Linked DNA regions of Homo sapiens: region 1 is linked to region 2. The links are contacts of gene promoters, found by promoter capture Hi-C in human tissues and cell types (Jung and others, 2019). All regions are on one chromosome and are shown on one strand. The core of a region is centred on a gene start or on the middle of the fragment in contact, and the rest is flanking DNA. Distances in the headings are between cores, read along the strand shown. Region 1 overlaps ZFTA (zinc finger translocation associated). Region 2 holds the start of MACROD1 (mono-ADP ribosylhydrolase 1).

Evidence for each region. The method cuts DNA at HindIII sites, captures the fragments that hold promoters and counts their contacts. A contact is called where the count stands out against the background at its distance.
Region 1: a contact is called between a fragment that was not itself captured here and the fragment with the promoter of MACROD1 in region 2, in 1 of the 25 tissues and cell types used here (spleen).

What each region holds. Positions count from the first base shown.
Region 1 is chr11:63,762,003-63,766,709 of GRCh38, reverse strand. ZFTA (zinc finger translocation associated) reads left to right here. Exons shown (of 5, transcript NM_001144936.2): 2 at 406-903; 3 at 1,456-1,842; 4 at 2,112-2,672; 5 at 2,841-4,707. The coding sequence ends at 3,292. Among named protein-coding and RNA genes, the nearest start is that of ZFTA, 4.4 kb to the left of the region's middle. RefSeq lists an enhancer at 4,336-4,707. The HindIII fragment of the contact is 7,859 bases long and covers 1-4,707 here.
Region 2 is chr11:64,164,861-64,169,282 of GRCh38, reverse strand. It overlaps MACROD1 (mono-ADP ribosylhydrolase 1), which reads left to right and starts at 3,170. Exons shown (of 11, transcript NM_014067.4): 1 at 3,170-3,586. The coding sequence starts at 3,289. It overlaps LOC105369339 (a long non-coding RNA gene), which reads right to left and starts at 3,045. Exons shown (of 3, transcript XR_950187.3): 1 at 2,694-3,045. RefSeq lists silencers at 2,784-3,043, 3,304-3,383, 3,514-3,613 and an enhancer at 3,151-3,651. The HindIII fragment of the contact is 20,905 bases long and covers 1-4,422 here.

The DNA of each region.
Region 1 (4,707 bases), core at 1,787-4,286, 400 kb after region 2:
ATGCCCCCTTTGTTTGTCTGGCCCCACTGCCTGCTCTGCTCCAGCTGGAACCGCCCTGGCCTGCTGCTCTCCTGGCTTTCTCCCTACGGCTCTTGTCCAGAAAGGGCACCTTACAGAGCTGGTTGGCTCCTTGGCCCTCACCTTATTTTTTAAAAAGTCAGAGCTATTTCCACAGTGCCCTGCGTCCTTTTGTTCTTGATCTCCTCTTAAAGGGTCCTTGCCCTTTGTAAAGGGCTAATGTTTTGGCTCCCACTTCTACCATCCCTTTTATTGCTGTTGCCGTCCCTTTCCTGCCCCGGAACACCCCCTCCCCCAGCTCCCTTTCTCAGGGCTCACCATCAAAGCCCTCGCCTCTTTCCCTGGAAATCAGAGATTGAAAAACTGTCTCCCTTTCCCCTTCTTCAGGGCAAGATCTTCAGCTGGAAGGGGGTGCCTTGGGGTCCTGGGGGAGTGCCCCCCTGCCCTCCTCCAGGGCCAGGGGACCAGCATCTTCAGGCAGGAAATATTCAGACCACTGTGAGGCCCGGGCCTCGAGGCCTGGAAAGAGCCGCATCCCTGGCCGTGACCACCGGCGCTACTACCACGACCACTGGCGGCTGGAGTACCTGATGGACTTCAACCCTGCCCGGCACGGCATGGTGTGCATGGTGTGCGGCAGCTCCCTGGCCACCCTCAAGCTCAGCACCATCAAGCGCCACATCCGCCAAAAGCACCCCTACTCCTTGCATTGGAGTCCCCGGGAGAAGGAAGTCATCAGCAACAGCTGGGATGCACACCTGGGGCTGGGGGCCTGCGGAGAGGCCGAGGGCCTGGGGGTCCAGGGGGCTGAGGAGGAGGAGGAGGAGGAAGAAGAGGAGGAGGAGGAGGGGGCCGGTGTCCCAGCTTGCCCGCCCAAGGGCCCAGGTAATGCAAATGCAGATTCTGTACAGGCAGGGGCCTGGGTGGCCAGTGGGGCACAGTGGGCCAGCTGCTCTGCCAAGGAGCTGGTGTTCTTGAGCAAGGCACTGCTCCTCCTCTGGGTGGGGTCTGTTTATTGCCCTTATTATACAAAGGTGGGGGAAGGACAGTGGGGTGAGAGGGTCTCCGATGTCCATGACAGCTTGTACATTCTGTGGTTTTTGAAGTATCAAGGAGAGAAGTTGGGTGACAGGCAGTGGAAAGGCTTGGAGCAGGGAGGCCTGGCTGGGGTGGGTGAGGGAAGGGGAGGGTGCTGGAGAGGTGTGGCTGACGGTGAAGGCCAGGGACAGGGCTAGATTCCAGTCTGGGGGAGGTGTGGGTGGTGCTTGAAATGCTAGCAGAGGAGGGTTTAGGGAGTTAGGATTTCAGGAGAGAGGAAGAGAAGGGCAAAGGTTAGGCCTGGGGCCCAAGTGAGTGAGAGGCTTGTGGGAGACCTGGCTGTAGTGGGTATGCTCCCGTGGGGCCAGCGTCTCAGTTCCTTCCCTCCAACCCTTTCAGGCAAAGCCCCAGCTGGTGGGGGCTGCCGGCGCCAGCGGCGAGGGGGCCCAGTGGCACCCCGGGCTCGGCGTCTGCGCCTCTCAGCCTCCCGGAGGGCCGGGGGCAGCAGGGGGCTGGGGGCCCGGCGCCTGGAGAGGAGGCTGAAGGAGTCCCTGCAGAACTGGTTCCGGGCCGAGTGTCTCATGGACTATGACCCGCGGGGGAACCGGCTGGTGTGCATGGCCTGTGGCCGGGCACTGCCCAGCCTGCACCTGGACGACATCCGTGCCCACGTGCTGGAGGTGCACCCTGGCTCCCTGGGGCTCAGCGGCCCCCAGCGCAGTGCCCTGCTGCAGGCCTGGGGGGGCCAGCCCGAGGCGCTGTCTGAGCTCACCCAGTCCCCACCAGGTGCGAGGCCCATCCCAGGCTGAGACCCCCTCATACTGGGGCTCTGAAGTGGGGTCTGTGGCCAAAACTGGGAGGCAGGGACTTAGGGCTGAGGGCTGAAGGCCAGGAGCTGGTGCTCCACACACATACTTTCCCCCTGCCCCCAGACAGAGACAGACTGGGGCCTCTAGCTTGGGGCTGGGGTGAGGAGCCAGGATGGACCCCTCTGAGTGGGCAAGGGCAACCCAGCCAGCAGGCTGAGCCCCTCTCCCTCACCCCTTCCCCAACAGGCGATGACCTCGCCCCCCAGGACCTGACCGGAAAGAGCCGGGACTCGGCCTCCGCTGCTGGAGCCCCCTCCTCTCAGGATCTCAGCCCCCCAGACGTAAAGGAAGAGGCTGGCTGGGTCCCTGAGAGGCCCGGGCCCGCAGAGGAGGAGGAGGAGCTGGAGGAGGGCGAGGGCGAGAGGGCGGGGGTCCCGGGCCGGTCGCCGCGGGGCCGCGCCCACCGCCGCCACCCCCAGGAGCGCTGGCGGCTGGAGTACCTCATGGAGTTGGACGGCGGCCGGCGCGGCCTGGTGTGCGGGGTGTGCGGGGGCGCGCTGGCCTCGCTCAAGATGAGCACCATCGAGCGCCACATCCGCCGGCGCCACCCGGGCTCCACGCGCCTCGGCGGGCCTGTCCAGGCCCTCATCGCCCGGGAGTGGAGCGAGAAGGCCGCCCACCTGCTGGCCCTGGGGCCGCCCCGCCCCGAGTCCCCCCAGGGCCCCATCCCCCCCGGCACTGCCGCAGCCTCCGACGAGGGGGGAGGGGACGAGGAGGAGGAGCCAGAGGAGGAGGAGGAGGAGTGGGGTGAGCGGTGGGGCCAGAGCAGGCGGAGAGGGAGAGCCGGGCAGTTGCTGGGGCAGAAGGGACTGGAGGATGGGATAGAAGGGCAAAGATGGGGTGACTGGAGATGAGACGCGGGGCCCAGCCCGCTGCCCCCCGCCGTCGCCAATGCGGTCCTTTGTCCCTCCTTAGGCGACGTTCCGCTGTCCCCTGGAGCTCCCTTGGAGCGGCCCGCCGAAGAAGAGGAGGACGAAGAGGACGGCCAGGAGCCTGGGGGACTCGCCTTGCCGCCGCCGCCTCCTCCCCCGCCTCCGCCCCCGCCCCGCAGCCGGGAGCAGCGGCGGAACTACCAGCCGCGGTGGCGGGGCGAGTACCTGATGGACTACGACGGCAGCCGGCGCGGCCTGGTGTGTATGGTGTGCGGGGGCGCGCTGGCCACGCTCAAGGTGAGCACCATCAAGCGCCACATCCTGCAGGTGCACCCCTTCTCCATGGACTTCACGCCTGAGGAGCGCCAGACTATCCTGGAGGCCTACGAGGAGGCGGCGCTGCGCTGCTACGGCCACGAGGGCTTCGGGCCGCCCGCCCCGGCGCCGCGTGACGGCGGCGCGGACCTCAAGTCTGGCGCTGTGTGTCGGGCGTAGCGGCCTAGCGGGCCCCCGGGTCAGGTCGGGTCGGGTCGGATCGGCCCCGCCCCGCCCTGTGCTCGCCCGGCCCTTCGGCTGGGAGACCCTCGCGTCCGGTGTTAGCGCTTCCCGCGGCCGCGCCCCCCGCTGGCCGGGCCGGGCGGAGACGGGGGATCGGGTGGGGCCACCGGCGTCTGCGCGGTGCCACTTGGGTCCCTGAGCCAGTCGGTGCGCTGCGGGAAGCGCACTCTCCCATCGGCCCGGAGCCCTGCCCTCCCCGCGCAGGGCCCACGTTTTCCGAGAATCCTCAGTGGCCTCCACGTGTTAGCGCCGAGCGCTCCCGGCCGCACCCCGCGAGGGGGTTCTCCGCAGGCCGGGACTGGGGGCGCCGTCAGTCAGTATTAGGGCCGAAGGGGGGCCGTGCGGGCTCTGGCTCTGGCCCTGGCTGGGGGCCCAGTTCCCTGCAGCCTTGCACGCTGGCAGGCACGGCTCCCGGCTTGGGGGCTGCTGGCTGCCCTTCCCTAATTGGGATTCTCGGCCTCTCGGAGGCCCCGGCTGCGGACTGGGGCTTCCAGCGGGAGGCTGGGCCGCAGGGCTCGGGAGCCTTCCCGGGGTGGGAAGGCGCGTTGGACCGAGGGCGGGGCTACGCGCCCGGGGCCCGGGCTGGACCAGCTGCGCTTACCTCCCCGGCAGGCTCAGTGAGAACCGTGCGCCCGGCGGCCCCACTCTCCTCCCAGGCCGCTGCCACGCCCTCCAGGAAAGCTCTTGTAAAGGGATTAGCACTTTTTTCCTTTGCTCCTCTTGCCCCGAGGGTCTCTGCTTACCCCTAAACCAAGTCCGTGGGAGCCCGGGGCACAGGCGGTCCCGGCAGTCAGCCTTCGATTCCCGCCCCATCCCCATCCCCCTTTGTCCGCGGTGGATGCGGCGTCCGTTCTCAACCCGCAGGGCCTGGGGCCGGGCCTCGGCCTCTTTTCCCCGTGGCAGCCGCAGGCCCTGTGTGGCAGGGATGGGGCCCCGCGATCTCCCAGGCAGGTCCGAGAGGGATGTGTAGATTCATTCTCCTGTGGAGAACAGGTGGCCCCGAGATCAGGCCCTTTTTTGCTCTTTGTATTTTATTTTGAAACTGTATTTAATGCTTTTATATGAAAGGGGGAGGGGCGGGGACAGAGCTGACCCAGTCACCCTTATGTGCAAATGTCTTATTTATTATGCGTGTATCAGAGATAAGCTGTGAGGTGGTGGAGGGAGGACCTGAAGGAAGGAGGAGCGAGGGCAGAGGCGGGGACGGGAGGACCCCAACTAGCTGTGCTGATGTTAATCCCGCTGGGAGACTCCGGGCCCTACTGTCTGCTCTTCACAAAGCCAGGCTGCTGCAGGAACAGTTCCCGCGGTCCTAAAGCCGGGGCGGGGAGGCTAGTGGGTGGAACTTGAGG
Region 2 (4,422 bases), core at 1,921-4,420:
CCCAAGTACTTGGGACTGCAGGTGTGACCCACTACACCTGCGTTATTTATTTATTTATTTTGAGAGGGAGTCTCACTCTGCCACTCAGGCTGGAGTGCAGTGGCACGATCTCAGCTCACTGCAACCTCTGCTTCCCAGGTTCAAACAATTCTCCTGCCTCAGCCTCCTGAGTAGCTGGGACTACAGACGTGTGCCACCATGCCCAACTAATTTTTTTTTTTTTTTGTATTTTTAGTAGAGATGGGGTTTCGCTATGTTGGCCAGGCTGCTCTCGAACTCCTGACCTCAGGTGTTCTACCCGCCTTGGCCTTCTAAAGTGCTGGGATTACACGCGTGAGCCACTGCACCCGGCCTGAACGCCAAGACTTTCTTATGGCTGGGGACCCTGCCTCTACCTCATCATCCTCACTAGACATTGCCAGGAAGGTTGCACAGGGCAGAATAATGGCCCTCCAAAGACTCCACATCCTAAATCCTAGAGCCTGTAAATATGTTACATTACACGGCAAAGGGGAATGAAGGCTGCAAATCAGCTAAGTAGAGAAATTGTCACAGATTATCTAGGTGGGCTCCATGTAATCACAAGTGTCCCTGAAGATGGAAGAGAGAGGCAGAAGGAGAGTATCAGAGGGAAATGCCACTACAGGAGAATGCTCAGATGCAACCGCGCTGGCTTTGAACATGGAGGAACAGGTCTCAAGCCAAGGAATGTGAGTGGTCTCTGGGAATCAGAAAAGGCAATGATACAGGCTGTCTGCTAGGGCTTCCAGAAAGGAACATGGCCTCGTGTTCCCCTTGATTTTAACCCAGTGATGCCCACATCAGACTTCTGTCCTACAGAACTTTAAGATACTAAATGTGTCGTTGAAGCCAGTGAATTTGCGGTAATGGTACAGCAGCAATGGAGAAGTAATATACTGCATCACCCACATGCCTCATTTCACCAATCAGTGACACCTGCATAACCATTTTCCAGACTGCAGATGGGAACCAAACAGACCTGGACCCAAGTCGGGGCTGGGATCCTGACCTGACCTTGGGCCAATCATCTCTCTGCCTGGAGGGGGTGAGAGCTGAGGATATAACGGGCTAATGGAGGTAGTGGGAATGGACATAGAGGGCTTAGCTCAGTACAGCTGGGACTTCGTGCATGTAGGTGTTGGCTGTCCTGGTTGCAGTCAGCAAGGTCCTTCCTTTACTCTGAGTTACTGGAGGGGCCACAACTGGTGAGGTGACCTGGAGCCTGACCCCTACATCCTGAACCGTGCCTTGCTGATGTTTTCAGGAGAGGGTGCAGGCCTTGCTGGTGGTCCTGGAATGCTGGGGGCCGTGGGCTCTTCCTTCCTGGCCTCTGGCTCCCCTTTGCCCTCACTCCCAGTACTGATGACTGCCTACCCTGCTGCTGGCAAGTCTATGCTGATCCTCTCTTGGGCAGATTTAATGTCTGGAGTCCAAGGGTGAGCCCGTGTCACCATCCCAGTGGTTCCATCTGCATCCATGGCAGGTCAGGGATCCTCGTACGGCCATCCATGGTTATTGCCACACTCAGAGTCAGAGGCCTGGAGCACAGGAGCAGGTTTGCAACCAGCCAGACTCTCTTATTCCTAGCTGACAGCTCAAGAAGTTTGAGTCTTAAGGGGCTAGGGTACCCTAGGGCAGCAACACTAGTACTAGAACCTTCTCTGAAACCCTGGCTCGTTCCTCCCTCGTATTAAAATATATTCATTATTATTATTACTTTTGAGATAGGGTCTCACTGTGTCGTCCAGGCTGTAGTGCAGTGGTGCCATCATGGCTCTCTGTAGCCTTGAACCCTTGGGCTCAAGTGTTTGCCTGCCTCAGCCTCTGGAGTAGCTGGGACTAGAGGTGAGTGTCTACCACCATACCAGGGTAATTTTTTTGTGTGGGGGCGGGTAGAGATGAGGGGGTCTCACTATATTGCCCAGGCTGGTCTTGAACTCCTGGCCTCTAATAATCCTCTTGCCTCAGCCTCCCAAAGTGCTGGGATTACAGGTGTGAGCACTTATTCATTATTCATTATTACATTCATTATATTATTATAATGGCCCGGCCTGTATTCATTATATTTATCATAAAGTAATATTAATAGTACATAAAAATATATAAAAGTACTTAAAAATCCATCCTCGTGTTTTTTGTTTTGTTTTCTTTGAGACAGAGTCTCGTTCTGTCACCCAGGCTGGAGTGCAATGGCACGATCTCGGCTCACCGCAACCTCCGCCTTCCGGGTTCAAGTGATTCTCCTGCCTCAGCCTCCCGAGTAGCTGTAATTAACAGGCATGCACCACCACGCCTGCATAATTTTTGTATTTTTAGTAGAGACGGGGTTTCGCCATGTTGGCCAGGCAGGCCTCGAACTCCTGACCTCGTGATCCACCCAACTCGGCCTACCAAAGTGCTGGGATTACAGGCGTGAGCCACCGCGCCCGGCCGGTTTTTGTTTAAAAAAGAAAAGAAAAAAAAAAAAAAACACACAGACACACACAAAAACATCACCCCAATCCTTCCACCCTTGAACGCCACTTGAAGCCTAAGTTTCCTGCCTCCAAATTCCACTATTTCCACCCTCGACTCTCCTCCCCAGCTGTCCTAGATTCTGCTCCAGCTGAGCCTTGGCCCCGGGGCTGTTAGAAGGCAGAGGCTCTGGGGAGAAGTCCCCAAACCGGATTTACCCGTTCGTCGCACCTGTCCCTAGGAGGGCAGGCTGGGGTGTGGAGGCGGTGCCCTGCTGACCCGCGGGGAGAGAAGCCCGGGTCTCCCAGGCTGCAAAACGCTCGGCACTGCGGAAGCCGCGCCAGGCTCTCCCAGCTCGATACGCAGCGGCCGGCGCGCCTGCTCCGCCGCGGGGCCGAGCGGCAGAGGGGCCCGGGGCTGCGTGGAAGGCCCGGGGGCTTCAGCCCGTGCCGGGGAAGCCGACGCTCAGCCAACCAGAAAGTTAGAGGCGGCCGAGGTCTCGCGGAGGGGAGGCGCCTGGCGGCCACGGGAGAAGTCGAAGGGCTCAGGCGGGGCTCCATCCGCGACACTGGGAGCCCGGGCGGGCGCGCACGTGTGTATACGAGTGCGTGGGCCCATCCGGCGGCCCGGACTACAAGTTCCAGGGTGCCCAGCGGCGCTCCCGGGTTTTCTGGCCGCGCCTCCCGCTGGCTCCGAGCAGGTCGCCGCTGGCTGGCAGTCGCCACCCGGTCCCAGAGTAAATAAGGGAGAGACACTCCCGAGCGCCGTAAATAGAGTCCAAGTGGGCGGAGAGCCGTCCCGCGCCGCCCGCTCATGTCTCTACAGAGCCGACTGTCCGGCCGCCTGGCACAGCTGCGCGCGGCGGGGCAGCTGCTCGTCCCCCCGCGCCCCCGGCCCGGACACTTGGCGGGTGCCACGAGGACCCGCAGCAGCACGTGCGGTCCCCCGGCGTTCCTGGGCGTGTTCGGCCGCCGTGCGCGGACCTCGGCGGGAGTTGGGGCGTGGGGGGCGGCGGCGGTGGGGCGGACAGCCGGGGTGCGCACTTGGGCCCCCCTGGCCATGGCGGCGAAGGTGGACCTGAGCACCTCCACCGACTGGAAGGAGGCGAAATGTAAGTGTAAGCACGAGGGGGCGCGAGGGAGAGGGCGGCCTCACGTGGAGCTTCCCGGCTGGGCGGCCCCCAACGAGCGAGCAGCCCCTTCCACCCGAGAGACCTGGGGAAGTTGAGGCCCCATCTGCCCTGGAACGGACCCCTCCTCCCCATTGACAGCCCCCCCCGCCCCCGCGCGTGTTCCCAGCCCCACAGAACAATTCACTCCAGACCAGGTCCAAGTGTCCACGCAGGGGGCAGCGTGAGGAAGGCGGCCTTCCTTACCCCATTGGAATGGGTCACAGGGCACCCCAGAGATTGTGCAGGACCTACCAACTTCCTTCCCTGTGCAGGAGGGAAACTGAGGCCGAGTGCCACAGCTGGCTTCCCCAAGGTCACTCGGAGCTGGTGGCAAAGTGGAGGTTATGATCCCGGACTCTCCAAACTTTGCACAGTGTGGTTCTTAAGTGTTCGGGAATGGGGCTGAGGGAACAGCTCCGGGGCTGGCGTCCCACCTGGTGGGGCACGTAACCTCACAGAGTGACCTTCCTGGGCTGGCCTGTCCTGCCTCCACCCCACCCCAAGCCCGCACTCTGATGCCTTCCTGGGCACGTGGTCTGGCGCCCTTTTCCCCTTCTCGCTGGCCTCTGGCCACTTGTGAGCAGTTTGCTCATGCCAGGAACAGAGGTTAGAGGAGCAGGGCAGAGGTGGGGTCTTGTCCCTGTGACAACTGATGACACCCTTCAAGAATCACACCACTTCCTCTTGCTCCTGGAGGGGGCATGAGTCTGGGGCCTGGGGAGAGAGAGAACCCAAGCTGCCGCTACTGAGCCCCAAATAGCCCTGCCGGGCACCCA